Regions from separate parts of the Homo sapiens genome. Here region 1 is linked to region 2. The links are contacts of gene promoters, found by promoter capture Hi-C in blood cells and fetal thymus (Javierre and others, 2016). All regions are on one chromosome and are shown on one strand. The core of a region is centred on a gene start or on the middle of the fragment in contact, and the rest is flanking DNA. Distances in the headings are between cores, read along the strand shown.

The links. Contacts are between HindIII fragments. The CHiCAGO score rates a contact against its expected background, and 5 or more counts as called.
Region 1: a contact is called between a fragment that was not itself captured here and the fragment with the promoter of AGO2 in region 2, in 1 of 17 cell types (erythroblasts). The highest score is 5.2, in erythroblasts.

Annotation. Positions count from the first base shown.
Region 1 is chr8:140,935,710-140,942,904 of GRCh38, reverse strand. All of the region lies in intron 1 of PTK2 (protein tyrosine kinase 2), which reads left to right. It also overlaps the pseudogene RNA5SP278. Among named protein-coding and RNA genes, the nearest start is that of PTK2, 62 kb to the left of the region's middle. The HindIII fragment of the contact is 5,639 bases long and covers 1-4,115 here.
Region 2 is chr8:140,634,201-140,641,386 of GRCh38, reverse strand. AGO2 (argonaute RISC catalytic component 2) reads left to right here and starts at 5,754. Exons shown (of 19, transcript NM_012154.5): 1 at 5,754-5,902. The coding sequence starts at 5,881. ERICD (E2F1-regulated inhibitor of cell death) reads right to left here and starts at 7,152. Exons shown (of 1, transcript NR_170171.1): 1 at 3,104-7,152. RefSeq lists silencers at 5,190-5,589, 6,240-6,409, 6,893-6,942 and an enhancer at 6,749-7,186. The HindIII fragment of the contact is 24,992 bases long and covers 1-7,186 here.

The DNA of each region.
Region 1 (7,195 bases), core at 47-2,546, 310 kb before region 2:
CCAAGGGAATGGCACTAAGCCATTCATGAGGAATACGCCCCCGTGATCCAAACACCTCCTACCAGGCTGCACTTCCAACACTGGGGACTACATTTCAACATGAGATTTGGCTGGGAAACAGATCCAGTCCTTATCACCATCCACCTGATGTTTTTATTGTGCACGTTATGCCTCAAGAAATAAAACTTTAAAGAGAAGAAAAAGTGACTTATATGCAAACAGATATTATCCATATACTCTTGCACACATATATGCGCGCACACACACACACACACACGCACGCACTCATTAGAGCTCAAATTTTCTTTCCAGCTGGATCAACATTTATTTGTCTGGATTAGGTACCACCAAAGTTGAAGTGAAGTAGATTTCAGTGTAGACACTGCTTTTGAAAACAGTCTTGAAGTCCTTGATTCATTTATGTAATCTGATTTATTTGTGGCCTAAAGGCTTTATATTTGTCTTTGTATAATGAGATTGTATATTATAAAGGTCATATAATTAGCAGAAATAAAAGATGTTTAAAAGTTATTTTAGTATTTGTTGCTCAAGTTCTTGTAGCTCTGGAGAAAAATAGTTTTATCAGCGTTATAAATAAAAATGCTATTTCTTATATTGATGAAACTATGCAGTCTTCAGCTCCATCTTTTAGTTAATAGTTAATGAGCTATAATGGTAGGGTACATTTATGTTTTAAACTGCTAGAATTAAGAATGTACATAGTAAGTCTAGGTGCAGAGGTTCATGCCTGTAATCCCAACCCTTTGGGAGGCTGAGGTGGGAGGATCGCTTGAGCCCAGGAGTTTGAACAACATGGCAACACCTCATCTCTACAAAAAATTTTAAAATTAGCCAGGTGTGGTGGCACATGCCTGTGGTCCCAGCTACTCGGGAGGCTGAGGCGGGAGAATTGCTTGAACCTGGGGGTGGTCAAGCTGCAGTGAGCTATGTTCACCCCACTGCACTGCAGCCTGGACGACAGAGCAAGTCCCTCTCTCAATAAAACAAACAAACAAACAAACAAACAAAAAGTTAGCTGGGCGTGGTGGTGCGTGCCTGTAGTCCCAGGTACTTGGGAGACTGAGGTGGGAGGATCGCCTGAGCCTGAGGGGTCGAGGCTGCATTGAGCTGAGATCATGCCACTGCATCCCAGCGTAGGTGACAAAAGTGAGACCCTGTCTCCAAAAAAAAAATAGAGTTGCTCATTACTACTTTGTGGTACTTGTTGATGTCCTGTGGAGCAGCCATTTAGCATTTTTTTTCCCAATAAACTCTTGGTTAAAAAGCCACAACAGTGAGTAGGAGTGGAATCAAAGTAGAAAGTTGTATGTTCTAATTTTCGTTTAAAAATCAGTTTATTTTAAATGATGAGCTCATCATTTTACGATCTTCAGGATATACTATAATGTGTGGCACTAATAGAATCAGTGATAGAATAAGGTGCATTACAGTAGGGCTTCCTAAGTTGCTTTTTGTTTATTTAATGCATATGCTCTTCTGTGTCTTGAGACACTGTCTCCAGCAGATGAGACCTGTTTATTACAGCCTCTGCAGAGAACTATTTGTGTGTTGATCACACAGTAAATATCTAATGGTAGCCTCTTTGACATTTGGTGTTTGGGAACAGGAGGGAGATTGCTGATTGTTCTGCTTTTTATATTTTATTGTCTCACTCCATCCCTGTATTTTTCTCTGGGAATGTCTTCATTAACTTAACCCTGGTTTTGAAGGCTTAAAAGTGTGCTGGTACGCTTTTTAGAATTGGTGACAGTTCCGGTTGGTGTAGCCCAGGTGGCAGTCATTCATGGTTCACTTGTCATTGCATGAACTTGGGATAGCTGTTCATATTGTGTTCATTTCAGTTGAATTTATGTGTGTGATTGTTGTATTACACATGTTGAATTTATTTTTTTTTAATTAAAAAAATTTTTTTTGAGATGGAGTTTCGCTCTTGTCACCCAGGCTGGAATGCAATGGTGTGGTCTCAGCTCACTGCAACCACTGCCTCCTGGGTTCAAGCAATTCTCCTGCCTCAGCCTCCCAAGTAGCGCAGGTACTCACCACCATGCCCGGCTAATTTTTGTATTTTTAGTAGAGACAGGGTTTTACCATGTTGTCCAGGCTGGTCTTGAACTCCTGATCTCAGGTGATCTGCCTGCCTCAGCCTCCCAAAGTGCTGGGATTACAGGCGTGAGCCACTGTGCCCGGCCATGTTCATATTAAAAAAACAATTTTATTTTAAGCCTACAGCACCCAGTATTTTCAGGCAGCCTCCCAATCCCAATACTACTAACCAGGCCCCACGCTGCTTAGCTTTTGAGATTGGATGGCATGGCTGTAGACCATGGTCATATTTTGGCAAGTGATGTCCCTTATAGCAGTTCTTACCCTTGATACAGGATCCTGTCTGGAATCACTTGTAATATATAGTCATGACTCTTTAGTCTTTTTTTTTTGAGACAGAGTCTCGCTTTGTCACCCAGACTGGAGTGCAGTGGCACTATCTCATCTCACTGCAAGCTCCGTTTCCCGGGTTCAGGCCTGCCTGAGTCTCTCAAGTGGCGCCATCCACACCTGGCCAATTTTTTTGTTTCACTATTTTGGCCAGGCTGGTCTCGAACTCCTGGCTTCAGGTGATCCACCCGCCTCGGCCTCCCAAATGCAAAGTAGTGTTTCTTTCCTGATGTACAGGATGTTGTGTTTTTCATCATGAACATAACTGTTAATCCCAAGTTCTTCAAGCAAAAGTCTGTATTTATTACTTGCCCATCCTATCAGGGATATGTTAGGATATGTCAATACGAACAGTAAGTGTAGCTGGAGCTAGTGATGAGTGAATGTGAATCAAGAAAAGTAAATGGATTTATTCTTTCATTCGACACAGTTGAGTGCCTTCCGTGGGCCAGGCCCCGTGCTCTACTCTGTTCTTCTGTTCATTTTTCCCCACTCATCTTTCAGATGATTCCTTGGTGATTTGGAGTTGTTTTTGGCACTTCGCCTAGATTTTGATGTAAATTTTAGTAACTCAGTCTCTCCCTTTTAAAAGGTATCTTTCTTTCTTAATTTGTGACATCGAGATTATCACTAATAAATAGTTAATGCCAGAGCAGGACAAATATCAAAATAATTTTTCATTGTATAAGCCTTTTGCGAAATGATTTACCATAAAGTGAATAAATGTGTACATACTACCTAGTTTTTATCTCCTAGTGACAACAGCTTTGAAATAAAAAAAATCCTGGTAGAATAATGGTGTTTGGGTATATGTATGACATAGGTGACCTAGAATGAGGGACTAGATGTGACTTCTAGGCCACATGGCCAGAATGGTATGTAATATTTGACTGTGGAAGATTTGTGCAACCCCAAATGATAATTTTATTCTGGGCCTGTAGGGTTGATGAAGGCTACCTGTTGGATTTGTGTGGAAACTGGATCCTAAATCTATCATCTTTTGATGGACTAGGGGCAGATGAGACTTGATCATTGTTAGAGCTGAACTTGCAGTATATAGAGCTGAACTTGTATAGTACACATATCAATAGCAGTGATAGATGTGGGAAAACTTTGATCACTTATGTATGCTTGTCATTAATTTTTTTGCAATTTCTTGAATGAAAAATTTTGAACTAGTAAACATTTAAAAATAAAATGTATAGTTTTTTCGAATCTGGCTTTAAATGTTTAGAATAAGTCTCTGGATTTAAAGGTTAGGATATACTTTTATTCATTAGATGATAAAGTTTATTGTGTATGCATCTGGAAGATTGTTCAGACTGTTGAAGAAGATGTATCCTTTGTTTGCCCCCAGCCCTTTCCTTTTCTTCCCCAACCCTACTTTTATTCACGTAAGAAGATGGAAGAGGGGAGGAAAGCAGGGTGTGACTTTTTATGCAAAAATATTCTTTTTTCAAAAAAAAAAATACTGAGAATGGGGTCTTACTGTATTGCCCAGTCTGGATTTGAACTCTTGGGCTCAAGCGATCCTCCTGCCTTAGCCTCCTGAGTAGTTGACATTACAGGCATGCACCACCACACCTAGGTAAAATATTTTGATTATGAAAACGAGTCAGTTTATAAGTGGATTTTATTGAGAAGAAGAGGATAACAAAGCTTGGTCAAATGTTTGCATGGCATTTGTACAGTAATCATGATGGCTGTTTTTATTTTAGGACATACTGTGGCTGCTGCCAGACATTTACCCAAGGGGTGGTGCGGAGTTGTTTCCTCAGCTGAAGCTCTTTGTTTTGTACCACTGAGCTGAGGCTGGAGTTGCCCCCAAAGCAGTGGCAGGGCAGTTCCCACAAGGGAGTGCTCCAGATTATCCTGAGATGGGGCTGGTTGGGATTCTAAAGAAAGAAGTACTAAACACCAGGGTGATCAGTCTAGAGCATTTATTGGGGAAACTTACAGAGGATTGCGACAATCCTTGTGACAGACAGCAAAAAGGAGTGGGGCGGTGTTCTCTCTAGGTATGTCTGCAGCAAGGGGATTAAGGTGTGGAGTTTTTATGAGAGTTTGAGGAATTTGTCTCAGGTCTAGGGCTAGTTTCTTTTAGTGTTTTGTGCAGCAACTTAGATACCTTTATCAATGCCTGGGAATGTTTAAGGCTCCATACTGAGTTCAAGCTTGCTAGGGAAAACCTGCACGTGGCTGGGTCACAGAGCGGTCAAAGCACTCTGGTATTTGGTCAGGACATAGAATGAAAGCACAGGGAACAGGACAGCCCTACACTAGTGGACTTAGTGATGGACGCCTTCTATTTGCATCGTCTCTCTTTGCATGAGGGGAGACAAAGATACTCTCGATTTTGTACTGTGAATTGTGTTAGATGTGAAGAGGAGGTTGTGTTGTCTTCTTAGATAACTGTTAGAATAATGTAGAGATCAACTAAGTTTGAGGATACAAAAAGTGAGATTGTACTGAGTATATTTTTCAACAGAAGAAATAATTTTGGTCATGTTCTTTTTGTTTTATTTGTAAGAGATGGGGTGTTGCTATGTTGCCTGGGCTGGACTCAAACTCCTGGACTCTGGTGATCCTCCTGCCTCAGCCTCCCAAGTAGCTGGGACTACAGACGTGCAGCCACTGCCACTATGTCCAACTGAATCATATTCTATATGGAAAGATTACATTGTAGTAAATATGTGTTGTACTTTTGTGGTCACATTAAAAATATGTAAATGTATTTGATGTATTTTGGGACTAGGAATATGCAGTTACATTAAACCCTGTATGTAGTAATGCCATTATTTTTGTTTTCTTTCCAATTTTTGTTAGATTAAATCAGATTTGTTTTTTTGTGTTTTTTTTTTTTTTATTGTTTACTTAAAGATGGCATTTGATTTCCTTAAACTTGGGAGATACATACTAGCAAATGCCTGTAGTCAAAGGTGGTTCCTGGGTAATTCAAGGGTGCCAATTAGAGTATACTTTAAGCCACGTGTAATTATGTCCAGGCTTTATATATACTTAGAGCATAAAAATAAACTTTCATTCTCTCATATTTAAGTCCATTTTATATAGACAAATTCATGGCATAACTTTATTTTCAGAAAAATCAGGTGTGGAAATACTTAAAACCACAGCTGAAGTAAATTATAATTTCCTCAGGAAGTAAGTATAAAAGTATGCAATAACGATTATAAAAAGAAAATTTAAATTCTTTAACATATTTTTTGCAGTTTCTTGCCCTCCATCACTTATTTTAAAAAATGGATGTTCTTAAAAATGTGCAAATTAGGTGTATATTTTAATGACACCTGTACTACAGGAGATCCATGTTTCTGTATTACATTAATATAAATCTTATTTGTCTAGGATCAGAAATCAAATGCTTTTAGTTGTTGCTGTTAATTATCTTTACATCTGTTTTTGATGTTTAGCTTTCCTGTTTGTGAGTAAACTACTTTATTAGCTATTAAGATGCATGGAAAGGCCGTATCCCAAAAGAGCAGTAGTCATTATAATAGCTTTATGTAATTAACTGAAAGCAGTATTTTTCTCTAAAAGGTTATCATCTTAGAAAGTTAAAAAAAAAAGATGTTCTCTAGAATATCCTTTGTCCTATTGGACTGATGAGCTGCAGATAATGGTAATTTTTATATTTAAAACTATTGTGGGACTTAAGTTTAAAATTTTATGTAGTATTTCAAGTTGTAACTTTGCCATGCTTAAAAATCATAGCAACCAAAGTGTCTGATGTGATGTGTGCTGTGACACATTCGGAGATGGCTCTTTAATTTGCTGGTGGAGGTGTGAAGGTTAAGGAGGTCCAGTTTTTGAATTGGTTACAGATTGTTTCTGAGGTAGATCAAGATCTGATCTTTTTTTTTTTTAGGGCAACTAAAGATGCCCCTGAAACATAACAACAGCATTGGTCGGGTGCAGTGAGTCAGGAAGGCCCCCATATTTGCATCCCAGGTAGAAAATGGGCCTAACAAGTTGTTCTTTTTGCTTTTAGTTGAAGTGTCTTTTATTATAGTGGCCCCTCCTCCTGTGTTTTACCTTATACCTTGTTGTAGACTTCGTGAGCGCTCAGTACATTGCTGAGAATTTAGGATGACGTTGATTTATCTATACAGTACATGTTTGTCTTCTCTTGACCTCTTTAGGTGATGTAGATGTGTAAAATTTACAGTGTTCATTGATCCTGCTTCTTGTTTTCCCACAATTGATTTTATTAGTTAAAAAGATTGAATTCACAAAACTAGAAGGTTCTGACCTACTTAATTTTTTTAATTTTAGAGACAGAGTTTTACTCCAGCTCAGGCTGGAGGGCAATAGCACTATCATAGCTCACTTGTAGCCAAGCAATCCTCCTGTCTCAGCCTCCTGAGTAGCCGGGACTACAGATGCATGCCACCATGCCTGGCTTATTTTTAAAAATTTTCCTTTTGGAGAGATGGGGTTTCACTTTGTTGCCTAGGCTCTGATCTACTCTTAAAAGATGAGGACAGGCCGGGTGTGGTGGCTTACACCTGTAATCCCAGCACTTTGGGAGGTTGAGGCGGGTGGATCACAAGGTCAACACGGTGAAACCCTGTGTCTCCTAAAAATACAAAAAATTAGCCAGGTGTGGTGGCGGATGCCTGTAGTCCCAGCTACTCAGGAGCCTGAGGCAGGAGAGTGGCATGAACCCAGGAGGAGCTTGCAGTGAGCCGAGGCAAAGAGCGAGACTCTGTCTCAAAAAAAA
Region 2 (7,186 bases), core at 4,505-7,004:
GACAATTTTTACTTAATGTTTCTCCTCCTATGAAAGATAGGTTGCTGTTTTGTGTGTGTGTGTGTGTGTGTGTGTGTGTGTGTGTGTGTGTTTTGAGACAGCGTCTTGCTCTATCACCCAGACTAGAGCGCAGTGGTACAATCACAGCTCACTGCATCCTCAGCCTCCCTGAGGGCTTAGGTGATCTCCTACCTTAGCCTCCTGAGTAGCTGGGACTACAAGCACACAATCATGTCCCACTAATTTTTGTATTTTTTGTAGAGATAGGGTCCCACTCTGTTGCCCACACTGATCTCAAACTGTGCTCAAGACACCTGCCCACCTCAGCCTCCCAAAGTGCTGGGATTACAGGTGTAAGCCACCATCTTTAGTGAAAGATAGCTTTTATTTATCTCTTTTAACTCCAGAAAATGCTACAAGCTGGATACACCACATCCACACAAATCTCCCAAGGACTTTGTAGAAGATGCATTGGGATGAATTTGTAACTCTTGACCTTAAACAATTTGTGGCAGCATCTCTCATGTGCTCTGGGTGGTCTTCACATCATGCTTAGGAACACCAGCTGGGCCAGGCGTGGTGGCTCACGCCTGTAATCCTAGCACTTTGGGAGGCCAAGGCGGGCGGATCACAAGGTCAGGAGTTCGAGACCAGCCTGGCCAATATGGTGAAACCCCGTCTCTACTACAAATACAAAAAATTAGCTGGGCATGGTGGCGCATGCCAGTACTCCTAGCTACTCAGGAGGCTGAGGTAGGAGAATCGCTTGAACCCGGGAGGTGGAGGTTGCAGTGAGCTGGGATTGCACCACTGGCACTCTAGCCTGTGCAACAGAGCGAGACTCCATCTCAAAAAAAAAAGAAACACCAGCTGTCCTCAGGCTGGGGCAAAGGAAGGCAAGGGCACCCACACCTCATAGGTGAGACACCATCCTTTGAAGAGGAACTAGATTCAGAGTTAAATTTAGGGGGCTGTAAGTAAGTGTGCCAGACTAAAAAGCAGAGATCAATGCCTGCCTGAAAAAAATACAGTTTGAAAAGAAAAAAAATAATAAAACAAACAAAAAGAATGCAGTTTGGCTGTGCATGGTGGCTCACGCCTGTAATCCCAGCACTTCGGGAGGCCAAGGCAGACAGATCACTTGAGGTCAGGAGCTCAAGACAAGCCTGGCCAACATGATGAAACCCCATCTCTACTAAAAATACAAAAAATTAGCCGGGTGTGGTGGCATGCGCCTGTAATCCCAGCTGCTGGGGAGGCTGAGGCAGGAGAATCACTCGAACCCAGGAGGCGAAGGCTGCAATGAGCCGAGATGGCACCACTGCTCTCCAGCCTAGGAGACAGAGCAAGGCACTGTCTTAAAATTAAAAATTAAAAAAAAATGGCAACTTGAGAGGAAACAGAGGGCCAAAATGAAGTACCTCTTGTCTAGAGATGGTTACCTGAAGAAGCAGAAGGTGTGGCCTGTATTCAGACACGCTCACCAGTCAAGGGAACACCACATCCAGGCCCCTCCACCCTATCCTGCAAAGGGGGCCCAGCTGGCAGACCCAGTGGAGGATGGCACTGGCAGATTTTAAAGAGGTTATCATGGCCTGTTTTTGTTTTGTTTCTGAAACAGGGTCTCACTCTGTCACCCAGGCTGGAATGCAGTGGCACAGTTATAGCTCACTGCAGCCTCGACCTCCTGGGCTCAAGCAATCCTCCCACCTCAGTCTCCTGAGTAGCTGGGACTACAGATGTGTGCCACCATGTTCAGCTAATTTTTTTTTATTTTGTAGCGATGGGGTCCCCAGGCTGGTCTGGAACTCGTGGCCTCAAGCAATCCTCTCACCTTGACCTCCCAAAGCACTGAGACTTTGGGCACAAACCACTGCATATGGCCTGCTTAGTTTTTTTTTTTTTTCAGATGGAGTTTCGCTCTGTCCTCCAGGTTGGAGTGCAGTGGCACAATCTCGGCTCACTGCGACCTCCGCCTCCCAGGTTCAAGTGATTCTCCTGCCTCAGCCTCCCGAGTAGCTGGGACTACAGGCGCGTGCCACCACAACCAGCTAATTTTTTGTATTTTTAGTAGAGACAGGGTTTCACCGTGTTAGCCAGGATGGTCTCTATCTCCTGACCTCGTGATCCACCTGCCTTGGCCTCCCAAAGTGCTAGGATTACAGGCGTGAGCCACCTGCTTAGTTTTTAATTAAAAAACAAAACAAAACAAAAAACCAGTCTGGGCATAGTGTCTCACACTTGTAGTCCCAGCACTTTGGGGGCTGAGGCTGGTGGATCACTTGAGCCCAGGAATTTGAAACCAGCCTGGACAATATGGTGAAACATCATCTCTACAAAGATTAGCTGAGCCTGGTGGGATACTCTTGTAGTCCTAGTAACTTGGGAGGCTGAGGTAGGAGGATTATTTAAGTCCAGGAGGCTGCAGTGAGCTATGATTGCACCACTGCACTCCAGCATGGGCAATAGAGTGAGACCCTGTCTAGAAAAATACAAAAACAAAAAAAATAAGGTCAGGTGTAGTGGCTCATGCCTGTAATCCCAGCACTTTGAGGAGGCCAAGGTGGGAGGATCACTTGGGCCAAGCAGTTCAAGACCAACCTGAGCAACACAGTGAGACCTGTCTCTACAAAAGTTTTTAAAAATTAGCCAGGCATGGTGGCATGCACCTGTGGTCCCAGCTGCTCAGGAGGCTGAGGTGGGAGGATCACTTGAGCCTGGGAAGTCAAGGCTGCAATGAGCTGTGTTTTCGCCACTACACTTTCACTTTGGTGATCCTGTCTCAAAGTATATATTACTCAAAGAATCATAGACTATTAGAGCTGGAAGGGATCATAGAAGACCTCTACCTCTGTGTTTCCTAAATTATGCTCCACGGAACCTTGAGGTACCTCGTGAAAAAAGGGTTCTGTGGCTAAATGGGTTTGGGACAGGTTGCATACTGTCTCATGCCCTCCTTCCTCTTTGTAGAAGCATGATTCTTCTCACCTTGCTACAGGCTCTGAGAAGGCCTGCAGACAATAAACTTATTTATCATTGTTTGATCCAGTGCTTCCCAATTTACTTGACTTCCCAAAGCTGCTTTAATCATGTGCAGAACATGTTTTAGGAACAAATGATTTATTCCATTGCCTGCATTTTAGTCTTGAAGAAACAAAGTGCCCCCAAAGCCGAGGGCTTTGTCAGCCCTGTGGCCTCAGGAGCTTTCTCTGTACTTCCCCTCACCCCTTCTTTCTCTCTCATGGGGAGCTGGTGCTTTAGACTGAGTGCACCCAGTGTGCAGAGCTGCAGGCCAGGCTGCTGCAAATGTCCCTGGCTGTGATTAGAGCCCACGGTCTTATCAAAGCATCAGGATCCTAAAACACAGAGGAAGGAATTGTATCAGGGAGAAGCACTGGGTCCAGAAGACCCAGAGTCGGCTGAGTCACCATCCGGGTGTGGGACGTGGGTCTGGGGGACAGAGCAGCAAGGGCTGGAGACATGTCACAGCAAGCACCGAGACGCACAGTCAGATGAGTTAAGCAGGTTCACTAATGGCAGGAGAGGTAACAGGCAGAGGGGACTGCAGTTCTCAGCTCCGTTGGGTGGTGGATCTGTTAGCCATGCTGAGTGAGGGACACCAGAAGAAAAGCAGGTTGGGAGGAGGGTAGGGATGGGGCTGCAGGAAGCGGGCTGAATTCCTGAACACAGGTGTGGAGGGTAGAGACCTGCAGAGAATGGGCTTATCTAGGAAAAGAGCAGAGGGAACCCCGTGCCCCAGAGGGCGAACCCAGTGACTGCATGGGCCCTGGGGATAGAGATGGGGCAGGCAGCAATGGCACCCCTCCGCCAGCAGAGGGCCACGGTGTCCGCCATCCAAAGAGAAGTGACACAATGAAGCCCTCAGAGACATTATCTTGCCTTCTGGAACGAAATCCTTGCAACAAAGTTCCCCAACACAGCGCTCAAAGGAGCTGAAGGCGGGCTGAGGGCAGCCAGTGATGACAGAGCCTTCTGGGCCTTTGCTGAGGCGTGCAGTCGCTGACAGCAGGGCAGTTGGGCCTCAGGGATTTCGGGCCAAAACGAGTTTTGGGGATATGTGAAGGAGACAGGGGCAGAGAGAGAGGGTGGGCATCTGCGAACTGGGAAGATTGATGAGGTTGCATGGTTCATAAATAGGAAAGTGGTAACATTCATGATTATTTAAAAATTTCCGTGAAATACTACAGTAAAGGTACAGAAAAGCATATAAAGTAAAAGTGCAGTTTAAGGGATGGCTGCCAAAGGGCACCATTGCAGGAAGGAACAGGCCTGGCACCCCCAAATCCCCCAGGGGCCCTGCTGTGGTCACAGCCCTCTCACCCCCAGCTGTATCCACCATTCTGACACTTAGAGTAAGCACCTTCTTGCCCTTCTGTCAATTATTTACTACTTAATGATGCTTCCCTAAAGAATGCAGTTTAATTTTGCCTGTTTTGGAATTTTTGTGAATGGCTAGATTCCATCCTGTGAATATGAGCACACTGTTTCTCCATCCTGCTCTCCGTGGGTATTCAGTGCCATGCAGTCCAAGCGGTGATGAAGAATGCCATGCACACTCCTACCCAGGTTTCCTGGTGTTCATTACTACACATTTCAGGAGCACGTTTTGTATCGGCAACTTGGTGAAGACTGATGTCCTTTTGAGTTTTCGGAGGAAGTGCTGGTTCTCCTGCCCTTCTTCAGGGCTGTCCTCCGAGACTGCAGAGAACTAGTGACCACCCTGCTGGCTGCGGAGCTCCTGTCAGTCAGAACTCCTGTTTATTCTCCGCCCGGAACAGGGCCTTGCACCCATATGCAGACAGCCGATGCCACGGGGTGAAGGAATGCTCCGGGAAATCTGGGAAAAGGCGACCAGGCACTTTAGATTGTGGGTCAACCTCTGCCTTCTAATCCTCCATCACTTAGGGGAGAAAGGAGGTAGCCACAGGCTGGCTTTTCCAGGAAAGCCTCCGAAAACCAGACGGACCCAGAGGGACCGGACAGAAACGCTCGGAGGTGCACGACGGTCCGAGCAGGCCCCTGACTGCTGGAATGGGCGTGTCCGCTGATCTGATCCCTGATACCAGCTACAGTTTACTAAAAACTTCTTAGATTTTCTCAGTGCTTTAAACGGATTATCTGGGTTCTGGGGCCGCGCCGGGAGGTGGCGGTGTGGTCCTGCGCGAGCGGCCGGCCGCGTTCAAGTTCAAGCTCCGGGCTGGGAGGGAGCTTCCCGACCTCCGTGTTTCTGTAGTAACTTAAAGAGCCAGGCTGGGGGCCGAGGGGCTGAGGGTGGGAGGGTTCTGCGCCCCCCACCGGGGGGCGGCGGGGAAAGCGGGGGCGCGTGGCCTCCCCTCCGGCTCCGGCGGCACAGCCGGGGGGCCCGGCTCCTCCCCGTCGGGAAGACGCGGCTTCTCTGGGTGGCAGTGAAGGGTCCCCGGGGCCGCGCCCGCCCCCGCGCCACACGGGCCGCGCCGCCCTCGGCCCTCGTCCCCGCTCCCGCCCGCGGTTCCCACCGCCCGGCGAGGTCTCCGGGCCCCTCCCCGGGTCCCCGCCCCAGGCCCCGCCAGACCCGGCGCCGCCGCCGCCGCCGCCGCGGACCCCGCCCGCGCGCCCAGCCCCGCTCCCCCCGCGAGCGCGCTCCCGCCGCCGGCCTCGCCTCCCCTCCCCCTCCCTCCTCCTTCCTCCCCCGCCCCTCCCGCTCCCGCTCCCGCCGCCGCCTCCGCCCGCCGCCCCGGCCGCGTCGGGTAAACCTGTTTGGCGAGGCGGCCGCGCCGGGGCGGATCGTGCGGCCGGCGGCTCCCTCGCGGCTCGCGGCGTCGGGGCCCGTGGCGCGCGCGCGGCCGCCCCTCGGCCCCGGAGCCCCTCGGCGGCGCCACCATGTACTCGGGAGCCGGCCCCGGTGAGTCCTGGCGCTCGGGGCGCCCGCCCGGCCGTTCGCGCGCTCCTGCCCGTGGTTGGCGGGCCCGGCGCGGGCGGCAGGGGCCGGGGATCGGGGGGCCGCGGGGTCGGGGCGGCGGGGGCCGGGGGCGGGCGAGCCGGGGCCGCGCTTGGGGGCTCGAGGAGCGGCGGCGGCGGGGCCGAGCCGGCCGTTTTCTCGGCCCCGCGTTGGACGCGCAGCCCCGGCCTCCTCGGCCCCCGCGAGTCGTCGGGGCGCCCCGCGCGGCCTGGGCCCCTCCCGCGCCTCGGGCCCGCGTCCCAGCGTCCTCGCATCCCCCGCCCGGGGCCCGCGGGCTGGGGCCGGGGCCGAGGCGGCCGCCGCGTGTAGGCCCGAGGCCCGGAGCGCCCCGCTTGGCCCGGCCTCGCTGCCCGGGCGGGGATGGGGGCGCCGCAGCCCGGCCCGGCCTGACCCTGAGCGCCTGAGCGGGTGGAGGCCGGGTCGGGGCGCCCGGCTCGGGGCGCGCACGGGCGGGAGGGGAGGGGGCTGCGCCGGTCCCGACCCCAGCCGCGGTGAGTCTGTGGCGCGCTCCGTTGTGGCCCTTCTTGTTGCCGGCACTTCTTCGGCCCCTTTTCCCAAGGAAAGTCTGGAAATGCTGAATTTTGGCCAATTCCTGTAGTTAGGGCTGTCGCCTGGAAAGGGGAGGACGCGGCTCCCCGGAACCCTCAAACTGCGTGCGCGGCTCGTTCTCATTCCAGACACGCCGGCCTCCCCATTCAAGTGCTAATTCCTTTTACAATTTCCTAGGAGAGGTGAGGCGAGGTGGATTCCTGTAGCACCCCTTGTTGCTAGTCGGCCTTTCTCTGGAAAAGTTCTAAAAAACTTAAAGCGGTAACGCGTTGTTTTTCTTTTTAAATGCAGAGTAGAAGGCGGTCTCCTTGGTGGGCCAAAAAAACGGTCAGGTGTTCTCCTGCTTTTGGCGTGCTCCCACCGGGCACGTGGCTCCTGGCTCTCTCGGCCGGCCTGGCCGCTGGGACGGGGCACCGCCTGCTCCCCTTTGTCCGCTGGGCCCCAGCCGGGCCGCAGGCGGCGCAGGCCCCGCCGGGCTCTGGGCTTATGTTTACCCGGCCGGGCGAGGAGGCTCGCATTCCCGATGCTGCCCTCGTTGCTGCAGACCGGCCCCAAATTGTGGGGTCCGGAAGGCCCCCTGGCCCACCTTGGTCCGTTGATGGTGGCCCCCACTGCTGGAGCTGTTGGCTCTGTGCCTTGCGAATGTCGCGTCTTTTTTCTGATGTCATTTAGAAAGCT